Linked DNA regions of Homo sapiens: region 1 is linked to region 2. Evidence: promoter capture Hi-C in 16 types of primary human blood cells and fetal thymus (Javierre and others, 2016). All regions are on one chromosome and are shown on one strand. Each heading gives the region's core, a stretch centred on a gene start or on the middle of the fragment in contact. The rest is flanking DNA. Distances are from core to core; before and after follow the strand shown.

What was found. The method cuts DNA at HindIII sites, captures the fragments that hold promoters and counts their contacts. A CHiCAGO score of 5 or more calls a contact.
Region 1: a fragment that was not itself captured here is called in contact with the fragment with the promoter of MTA1 in region 2 in 1 of 17 cell types (monocytes); the score reaches 5.1 in monocytes.

Annotation. Positions count from the first base shown.
Region 1 is chr14:105,251,571-105,256,601 of GRCh38, forward strand. It overlaps BRF1 (BRF1 general transcription factor IIIB subunit), which reads right to left. Exons shown (of 18, transcript NM_001519.4): 4 at 4,948-4,979; 5 at 937-1,009. Among named protein-coding and RNA genes, the nearest start is that of BTBD6, 5.6 kb to the left of the region's middle. The HindIII fragment of the contact is 7,870 bases long and covers 1-5,031 here.
Region 2 is chr14:105,417,874-105,422,258 of GRCh38, forward strand. It overlaps MTA1 (metastasis associated 1), which reads left to right and starts at 1,954. Exons shown (of 21, transcript NM_004689.4): 1 at 1,954-2,190. The coding sequence starts at 2,163. MTA1-DT (MTA1 divergent transcript) reads right to left here and starts at 1,866. Exons shown (of 2, transcript NR_125385.1): 1 at 1,149-1,866; 2 at 1-436. RefSeq lists enhancers at 151-820, 3,499-4,166, 4,167-4,385 and silencers at 1,518-1,617, 1,648-1,697, 1,788-2,047. The HindIII fragment of the contact is 23,301 bases long and covers 1-4,385 here.

The DNA.
Region 1 (5,031 bases), core at 2,117-4,616, 160 kb before region 2:
TGGCACCTGGGAGAGGGCATGGGCCGAGTGTATAGCCTCAGCCGGTGCCCCTCTGCTGCTGCAGCCCGTGTTGCTCAGTCCTGTTGGTGACCCAGCCCCACCTGGTGCTTCTCTACCCAAAGGACATACGCTCCTAGATGCAAACAGGCAAAGTAAGAAAGGGGCCTCTAAGCGGGCCATGGAAACCAGTCATCTGCTTGGTAAAGAAAGGGTAGGTCAGAACCATCGGGCAGTGAGTGCTGTTTTGATCCTTTCCTTCTAGACTTTTCCGCTAGGTTAGATTCTGCATGCATGAACACTGCTGCTGCCTCGAGGGAGAGACAGGACTTACCCTACACCTAACACACATCAAGAAAGGCATACAGGAGTTCCACAAACTCGCACACAACACAGAACAAAAGTGGCAGAAAAACCACAAAAGAGGGCTGTGGCTGGAAAGCACAACCAGGAGCTGCCCCACTGTCCCCATCTGTCCAGAGGCACCTGGAGCCAGGTGTGTCCCTTAAACCTTGTCCACACAAGATGCTCCCAGCACGCAGCACTTGTTTCCCTGTCTACACCTTCCTGCCACCTGACAGGCACTGACAACAGGCCTTCTGGTTTTGCAGCAGAAAGCAAGCCCCAGGCCAGGTGCGGTCTCATGCCTGTAATCCCAGTGCTTTGGGAGGCGAAGGCACGAGGATCACTTGAGGCCAGGAGTTTGAGGCTGCAGTGAGCTACGATTGTGCCACTGCACTCCAGCCTGGACAACAGCGAGACTGTGTCTTAGAAAATAAGGCCCCACATTACTGAGCTCCTAGCAGCTTTAAGAAACATTTCTTACCTTGAGGGGTCCCATGCTTGGACAGGATTTCCCTCCACTGTTCAAAGGACATTTGGCACGCTGGTCCCTACAGCAGCCTGCCGGACACCCCAGCATCTCACCCAGATGCCTACCTATGGCCGGCGCATTGATGCAGAGCTCTCTTGCCAAGAGAAGAAACGTCTTTCCAAGCACGTACACATTCACCTGAGATGGAGAGATCACAACCAGAAACAGCATTGGTATTTAAGGAAATGTTTGCTTTTTTTCTCTTAAAATGCATCTCTTGTGCAGTCTTTAAAGACTCCGATGGCCCGTGGAGCAGCCACCCCACACCCGCAAGCCTGGCTGGCCTCCCTTGGCTGCTGGGGCTCCCAGGGCCCTGCCTTCTTCCTCTAAGCCGCTGCTTTAGGCCGTGCTGCCGTCTCGCCAATGATGGCATCTGCTTAGAAGAAAACCTGACTGCAAGGTTCCTCCCAGGGCGTCATCACACGGTGCACGCAGCATTTCATTCACAACTGCACACCCATGAACACAAAACCAGTTCTGTCCACATGTGCTCCCACCAGCCACACCTCCAGCCCAGATTCCGATGGGCCCAGGGGTCTTGGCCTCAGCCCCCTTGCTGGGACTGAGATCTGTGTTCCTCAGTGACTCCCCTGCCCCCCACACTGTTCCTACCTTAGGTCCAAATCCACACAGATCCTGTCACCCCTGCCTCGGCTATCTGCCATAGGGCAGTGGAGGTGAGGCCCAGACCGAGAAGGGCAACGCCGAGGGCTGGCAGTGATGGGAGCACCGCTGCTTGTCCTCAGCAAAACAAGGACTCTAGCCTGTGTGCAGACCCTGTGCACAGCCCTGCCGTGGGCCGAGTACCCCTAAGGAGCCCTGCTGGCTGGGGGAGGACACTTCAGAGCAATGTCTGCTGGCAGGTGTGGATGAGGTGCACAGCGGGAATAGCCTGGTCCCTACTGGAGCCTGCAAGAGCCCTGCCCACACTTGGCTGTCTTCATCCCAGGCTTGCCCCTGGGGCCCCCGGGCCTCACAGGCTTGGCCAGTCTGACCCTCTGCCACTAGCCTCCCCCAAAGAATTCCCTCGCCTGACCAAGCCCGGCTCGTGGGCCCTTAGACAAGTCCCCTTGTCCTGGCCCGCCAGTGGCACTTCCAGGTGCTTGCTGACTCCAGGGTACTGGGAGACCTAAGGGACCGCACACAAAGGGTCCTGTCTGCGCTAGAGGCAAGAGACAGAGGCAAGAGCCAGAGGCAGCGCTTGTGGGGGATGCCTCTGATCAGGGACCCTGCCCGCTGGGAGGGCTGGGCCCCCACAGCAGCTCCTCCTGGTCACCATCCACCCCAGTGGGGCGCAGCTTCCATCTTCTCCATTATATCCGAGGGCTCCATCACAAGGGCTGGTGGCTCACAGAGTGTGCCTTCTGAAGGAATTTCCCCTCCTCACAGTTTCTGGGGGTTCCAGGGATCCCTGGGGTCTGCTCACCAAACTGGGGGGCGTGTCAGCACATGTAGTGTGTGTGTGCATCCGCATGCAGTGTGCAGACATGCATGTGTGTACACACGCATACAGTGTGTCTAGGTGTGACTCACGCATGTCATGTATGAGTGCCCCAGCCCCTGTGCTGGGTTCCTGCCAGGCCCCTGCATCTTGATCGTCCTGATCCCACCATCTCTCTTTAAGCCACAGCAGAACCATGATCTGCTGCTGGCCTCTGCCTGCCCACCTCAAACTCCACACCCCCCAACCTTGTGTCCCAGAGACACAGGGATCAATGAGACCTGAACACTGCAAGTGAGGAATCTCCAAAGGGCCTTTACATGGAAACTCACGTTTAAAAAGCCATGTGTGCAAAACGCGTGCAGTTTTTTTGTTTTAGTTTGTTTGTTTTTGAGACGGAGTCTTGCTCTGTCGCCCAGGCTGGAGTGCAGTGGTGCAATCTCTGCTCACTGCAAGCTCTGCCTCCCGGGTTCACGTCATTCTCCTGCCTCAGCCTCCTGAGTAGTCAGGACTACAGGCGCCCACCACCACGCCCAGCTAATTTTTTTGTGTTTTTAGTAGAGATGGAGTTTCACCGCGTTAGACAGGATGGTCTCGATCTCCAGACCTCCTGATCTGCCCGCCTCGGCCTCCCAAAGTGCTGGGATTACAGGAGTGAGCCACCGCACCTGGCCGCAGTTTTTTGTTTGTTTTCTTGAGACAGAGTTTCACTCTTGTTGCCCAGGCTGGAGTGCAATGGCGCAATCGTGACTCACTGCAACCTCCACCTCAAGGGTTCAAGCGATTCTCCTGTCTCACCCTCCTAAGTAGCTGGGATTATAGGCATCCGCCACAACGCTCAGCTAATTTTTGTATTTTTAGTAGAGACGGGGTTTCACCATGTTGGCCAGGCTGGTCTTGAACTCCTGACCTCAGGTGATCTGCCTGCCTCAGCCTCCCAAAGTGCGGGGATTACAGGTGTGAGCCACCGCGCCCGGCCTAAATACATGCAGTTCTTTACAGAGTTGCTACCATGTATGAGGACCATTTATTGGAAATTCTCTTGCTAACAGTCTAACTGTGGCTGCTCCTTGAGGGCAGGTCAGGGTGGGGCACAGCCAGCTGCCCCCCCCATCTCTCTTCCTGGGCAGCAGGTGGATTCTGCCTGCAGACTGCCCTCGTGGGTGTCTGATGAGCTGTGTGCCCAGGCCAGTGAACAACCTGGGTCTGCCCTAAGGCAGGGATCAAGAGGGAGACTCCATGAGCTCGCCATGGGACCATCTGAGTCCCCAGGAGCCTGACCACTTCCGGAGCAGCTGCCCTGGCCCTGGCCCTCATACTCATCTTCCCTGGGAAGTCGTGGGGTTGGAACCAGGGTCATGTGGTTTTGCCCTGCACTGAGCAGAGAGCATCTGAAATGTGGACTTGCTGGATTATCACAATTCCAGCAGACTATTTTTAGCTTGACCACAAAATGTTTCAGCAGTAGCTTCTGAGTTGCCATTTATAAAGACAGCTGGGAGGACAAGGACCCCAGATGCCACCTGACACGGGCAGAAGCCTAACTGTGGGCTGCTGCCAAAGGCGGAAAGCCCTTGAGGACCAGAGGTGGCAGCACAGCCTGTGGGTGCCCAGAACCCCTGTGGGCACCTGGATCTGGACAGAGCTCCCTTTGAGGAGTGAAATCTACATGAATTCTGCACTGTGGTCACAACTGTTTTCAATATTTCTGAGTCCTCAGCAGCATGGTCACCAAGGACCTGTGGTGCAGCCCCCAGCACCGTCCCTGCAGAGCCTCGGTGCCCCCACCCTGTATCCTGTCTGCACAGGGGTCCCTGGGGTTGGTCTTTCCACTCTGTCACTTTGTTCAGTCATGTGGAAAGAGAGATGTAACTGAAAGTGCTTTCTGTGGTACCCAGAAAGTGAGTGTCTCCAAACAGACTGTAATATAAGATTTTTCTACAATTTAAAATGCATGCAAGAGGCCAGGTATGGTTGTTCATGCCTGTGACCCCAGTACTTAGGGAGGCCTTGGTGGGAGGGTTGCTTGAGCTCAGGAGTTCAAGAGCAGCCTGGGCAACATAGCAAGACCCCGTCTCTACTAAAAATACAAAATAGCCGAGCATGGTGGTGGGCACCTGTGGTCCCAGCTACTTGGGAGGCTGAGGTGGGAGGATTGCTTGAGCCCAGGAGGCAGAGGTTGCAGTAAGCTGAGATCACGCCACTGCACTCCAGCCTGGGTGACAGAGCGAGACTCCATCTCATAAATAAATAAATAAATAAAATGCAAGGTCAAAAGAAATAATCTCCTATACCAAACTAGGTACTCACAAAAAAATTTTTTAATTGAAAATAATCTCCTTTGTGTAGGACAAAAGTTCACTGTTCACCCAGGCCTAGCTAACACCCAACCGTGCCCAGCATTGGCAGGTGCCCTCCTGCCATGGAGACCCACACTCCCACAAGTCTCGGACTGTGACCCCCATGTCATGAAGGCCCCTCATCCTACAGACCAAAACTTCCTGACTGGGCAGGCAGCACAGACCGGCCACTGAGATGCGTGGAGGCACCTGGGGTACACCCCGGTCACAACCCTGGTCACAACCCCCAGGTCACAACCCCAGGTGGGGAAAGATGCAGGACGGAGGCTGTCTACCTGGAGCAGGTCGCTGAGGTCCAGGAGCATGTCTGCAGCAGGAGTCAAGGATCCTGTCGAGTGGCTGCAAGCTCAGGTTACTCG
Region 2 (4,385 bases), core at 704-3,203:
CTCTGCATGGTGAGGGGTGTGTCCTCTCCGCTGGGGAGGCCTGGCTTGAATTTCAGATTGCCTCCCTGGGACACCAGACCCTGTGCTGTGCTCCCTCAGAAGGACAGCCTTGACTGTCTCCACTCCAGCAGTCAGTTCTCTCCACTCCCACTGGGAGAAGGAGCAAAGGCTGGTGTCTTCAGGAGGCTCCTCTCCAGGCTGGGGCCAGGGAAGAGTGTGCATGTCACTGTCAGGATGTGTCCCAGTGGTGTGGCTGGGTTCTCAGGGTGAAGCTCGTCCATTTCTGGGATGGCAGCGGAAGCAGGCACTACACACGCAGCTTCAGGGGGCTCTCCCCATGCTTCCTAGCTGCCTGGCACTTTCTGGTGTTTCTGGCTAACTTTCTGGCCATGCCAGGAGTTGGTGGAAGGAGATCTCAGGCTGCAGCTTTGCTTTCCTGCTGAGGAGACAGAGGTAGGCTGGGGCTGTAGGACAGGGGAGGCCAGCAGCCCCACCTTCCTTCTGGAGAGACGCTGCCTGTCTGTCATTGCCCCTCTCCTGCACCTGGCCGCTGGCTGGCTGCTCTTCCCTCCCAATCACCAGCAAGCCAGCTCCTGTTCCCTGCAGCCCAGCCCGCAGGATGTGTCCTGGGACCCATAGCCCTCTCTCCCCAGAGACAGCACCGCCCTGCAGCTCGGGTTCCTGGCCCTGTGCTAACCCTGGTGGGGCTTTCCTTACTGGTCTGCTCTGCAGCCATGACATTGTGGCCACCGCTCTCCTTGGGACCCCCACCTGGCTTTCCTCCCAGCACATGCTGTTTCCTACCCACCTGGATGGTGTCCTGTGTGCTGGATTCCCCATGCTGTGTCCCCAGCATCCTGACCATGTCTGTCCCGCCTGCCTAGATCTTGCACCGTGGCCACGGGGCTCCCTCCTGATAGCCCTGAACGCTCCGCTCCATGTCCTACAGAGAGGGATGTCCCAAGTAGATGTCAGCTCCCTCCAGCATCTGAGCAGGCAGGACAGAGACCCACGGTGCTGCTCACATCAGCAGCCTGGAACCCCGAGACAGCTCCTTTTGCTCACCTCCCCCAACACTGATGTTGCACCTGTCTCCAAGCCACTCTGGGACCATCTGTTTCTCTCCATCTGGGAAGCCCCCTTCGCACCTCATGCTCTTCCTGGCTGGGGCGTCTGGGTCACTCACTGGACTCTCCTCTCCTTAGACCTGTGCACAAGCACACACGGGAAGGCATCCTGACAGGTGGTGGGAAGAGAAGGCAGCTGCCTCACTGCGGAAAGAGCACGGCCGCTCCTGGACTCCAGCCCTGTTGGGGCTGGCGGGGTCAGCAGGCGCTGGGTTCCAGCCTCAGGTGGGGTCTTTGGAGGTGGCCTCTGGGCACAGGCACCTCCTCTGCGGCCTTCTCACCAGGTCACGGTTCAGGGAGGCTTTGCCGGCTACGGAGCCTGCCCACACCAAGGCGCGCACGACCACCTGTCCAGAGATGCCACGCGGGCTGGGCGGCGAAGGCCAAGGACACGCCCTGCCTGGTGTCGGGGGCAAAGGTTAGGCCTGGAAGGGAGGTGTGGGGTGGGGACCCCGAGGCCAGGGCTGGGCCGCTGAGCTTCAGGGCCCTTGGGGGGCTCAGGGAGGAATGCCGGAGGACCCCAGCATCAGGAGGAACCCCTGGAGAGCTACGGCAGGACTCACCTGTGGGGCACAGGGAGGGATCACCAGGGAAATGGCCCTTGTGGAGGATCTCCCCTCTACCCCCAGGGCACCAGGGGAGGATCTACCAGGGGGTTCTGGTGGAAGGGCCCACCCGGGAAGCGGCGCGCGGGGAGGACTCGGGGGCGCCGAGAGGAACTGTCCGGGAAGGGGCGCGCGGGCCGCGGGCGGCGCGGGGTCGGTAACGGCCCGTGCGGTGGGCGGCGGCGCCCGAGGCCCCTCCCCGCCGCCCGCGGCCGCTCCTCCTCTTCCTCTCCCGCCCGCGCCGCGGCCCTCCCGTCCCTGCGCGGCCTCGGCGGCCTCGGCGGCGGCGGCGGCGGCGGCGGCGGCAGCAGCGCGGCCCCTTTAAACGCCTGCGGCGCCCCCCGCCCCCGCCATCGCGCCTCCATTTTCCCGGCCGCCCGCGCCGAGCGCCGCGCCCGCCCCGGGCCCCTCCGCCGCCGCCGGCCCGGACATGGCCGCCAACATGTACAGGGTCGGAGGTAAGGCCGCACCGCCTTTATGCCCGGCCCCGACCCGCCCGCAGCCCCCACCCGCCGCCGCTGCCGCCTCCCCCGCCCCTCTGCCCCGCAGGCCCCGCGCCCCCCGCCCGCCCTCGCGGCCCCCGGCTCCTTCCCGAACCGCCCCCCGCCGTGCTCACCCCAACCCAAAATGGCCCCGCGGGTCGGCCCCATCGGGGGCGGGCGGGGCTCGGCGGCCCGGGGGTGGGGGGCGGCCCACCTGTTGGGGCCGAGGGGGCGGCCGCGGGGGTGGCGGGGGGGCGCGGGGCCTGCGGGACATCCGGGGGTCCGGGGCCGGGAGCCCCCAGCGGGAGCACGTGGCCTTGGGAGGCGCCGGCTGCCGGTCTGGGAGCAGGAGTTTTGGGGCTGTGGGGTCTCCCCCGGCCCGCGGCCCTGTGCTGGGACTCCGGTGCATCCCCTCTGGGGATGGGGAGCCCCGGTGAGGGGCCACGTTCCTCCCTAGAGCCCTCCTGCAGCCTGGCCCCGGGGCTTCCCCCAGCAGGGATCCCTCAGGGGGTCTTCAGCAGGGAGCGAGCATCCCGAGCACGCCTCTAAGTCCCCCCAAACTTTTCCCTGCCTCTCGCTCACCTCAGCCCATTCGGGAGGCGCTTTGCAAGGGTTGGGGAGAGGCCGGAGGGCCTCCTGGGCAGGGGCTTCCTCCGTGGGCCCAGCCTCCTGTTGCTCGGGCCCCCCGGGCCTGCAGCTTTGAGCCTTGCCCTCCTTCGTGTGCCTGGGACTCCGTGGGGTCTTTCACAGGAAGGTGGGGGGTCGTGTGCATTCCATCATTCCATCAGCGCCTCCCTCCCCAGGACTCTGAGACCCCTCCCTGCCTGTGACCCTCTCGGGCAGGTGCTCATTACCTTTCCCACCTGCAGCCTGCGCTGCTGGAGGGAGCTGGGGTCACTCCCGCTCTGGCTTGATCCCCATGCCCCTGACCCCGAGTGCCCAGAACACTCTGTGTCTCTCGAGCGTGGCTTCTGCTGCCTTGGACGCCGTGTGGTCTGGCCGGCCAGTCCTGTGACCTTGGGGACGGTGGGAGCCCCCTACATCCCGTCTGTGAGATGGGCGGTCAGTCCGCATCAGCAGCTCTGGGCCTCCCCTGTCCTCTCAGAGGGGCGGTGGGCCTGTACCCCATCCAGCGGCAGCCCCTCCCACAGCCTCATACAGCTTTGCCAGGTCCCTGTGTGGACCCAGGTGCGCTGAGCCCACCCCACGCTCAGGGAGCAGCCTGGGTGCGGGGTCCCTCGAGGGAGGGGCCTGTTCCTTCCTGTTCTTTCTCCCCACCTGGAGACCCCCCTTCCAGCCTGACATGAGGGCCCAGTTTCTCACCCTGGCAGAGAGGATGCCTGCTGCCTGGGCTCCAGCCGGGCCCACTGCGCATGGTTTTGGGATTGGTCCCAAGAAGAGCTCTCCCTGCCCCCACCCATGTTGGGGGTGGGGAGTGGTGGCAGCTTTGGGCTCTAGGGCTGGGGACACCCCGACCCCAACTCATGCCTTCCTAGTGGCTGCATTGCTCGGCCTTCAGGCCTGCCTGCCTGTGATCTTGGCGCCAGCCTGGCTGCCCCCCCTCCAACCTTCCCATGCCTCGGTTTCCCCATGGTGTGGGTGAGGACCTCGTCTCTCAGCCGTCCTTTTGTGCCCTGTGGCAGCTGTGCTGTGGCTGATGAAAGCCAGGACCCTGCCTTGTCCCATCCCGGAGGTGCAGCTCCCCTGGGCCCCACACAGGCTTGGGAGGAGCCCTTCGTGGGGCTGCGCCGCCCTCCCCGAACCCTCTGTCCCCCTGTGCCCGCAGGCCCGTCCCAGGGCCTCACTGACCCACGCACTCCAGTGCTGTGAGGGTGGGTGGCCTGGACTCCTAGGCTGTGGCGGAGGGGCCCCACCATGCCTGGCAGAGATGCTGCTGGTCTCTTTTCCTGTGATGAGGAGCATGGGAGGTTGGGTGCTGTCTGCTGGCAGCACAGCCACGCGTGGGATCCAGACTGCTTCTGCGTGTGCAGTCCGTGGTCACTGTGGCCGGGTGTGCTCGGAGCTGTCAGGCCCCCCACGTGCCCGCCCCGAGGACTTCCTCTCCCTGCAGGTGAGACTGTAGGCCTCCCCCTCTCTACTCTGACTGTCCCTATAGGAGAAGCGGCATTTATCCCTGGCTTCTGGACCGGAACCCTGGGTTCCGGCAGGAC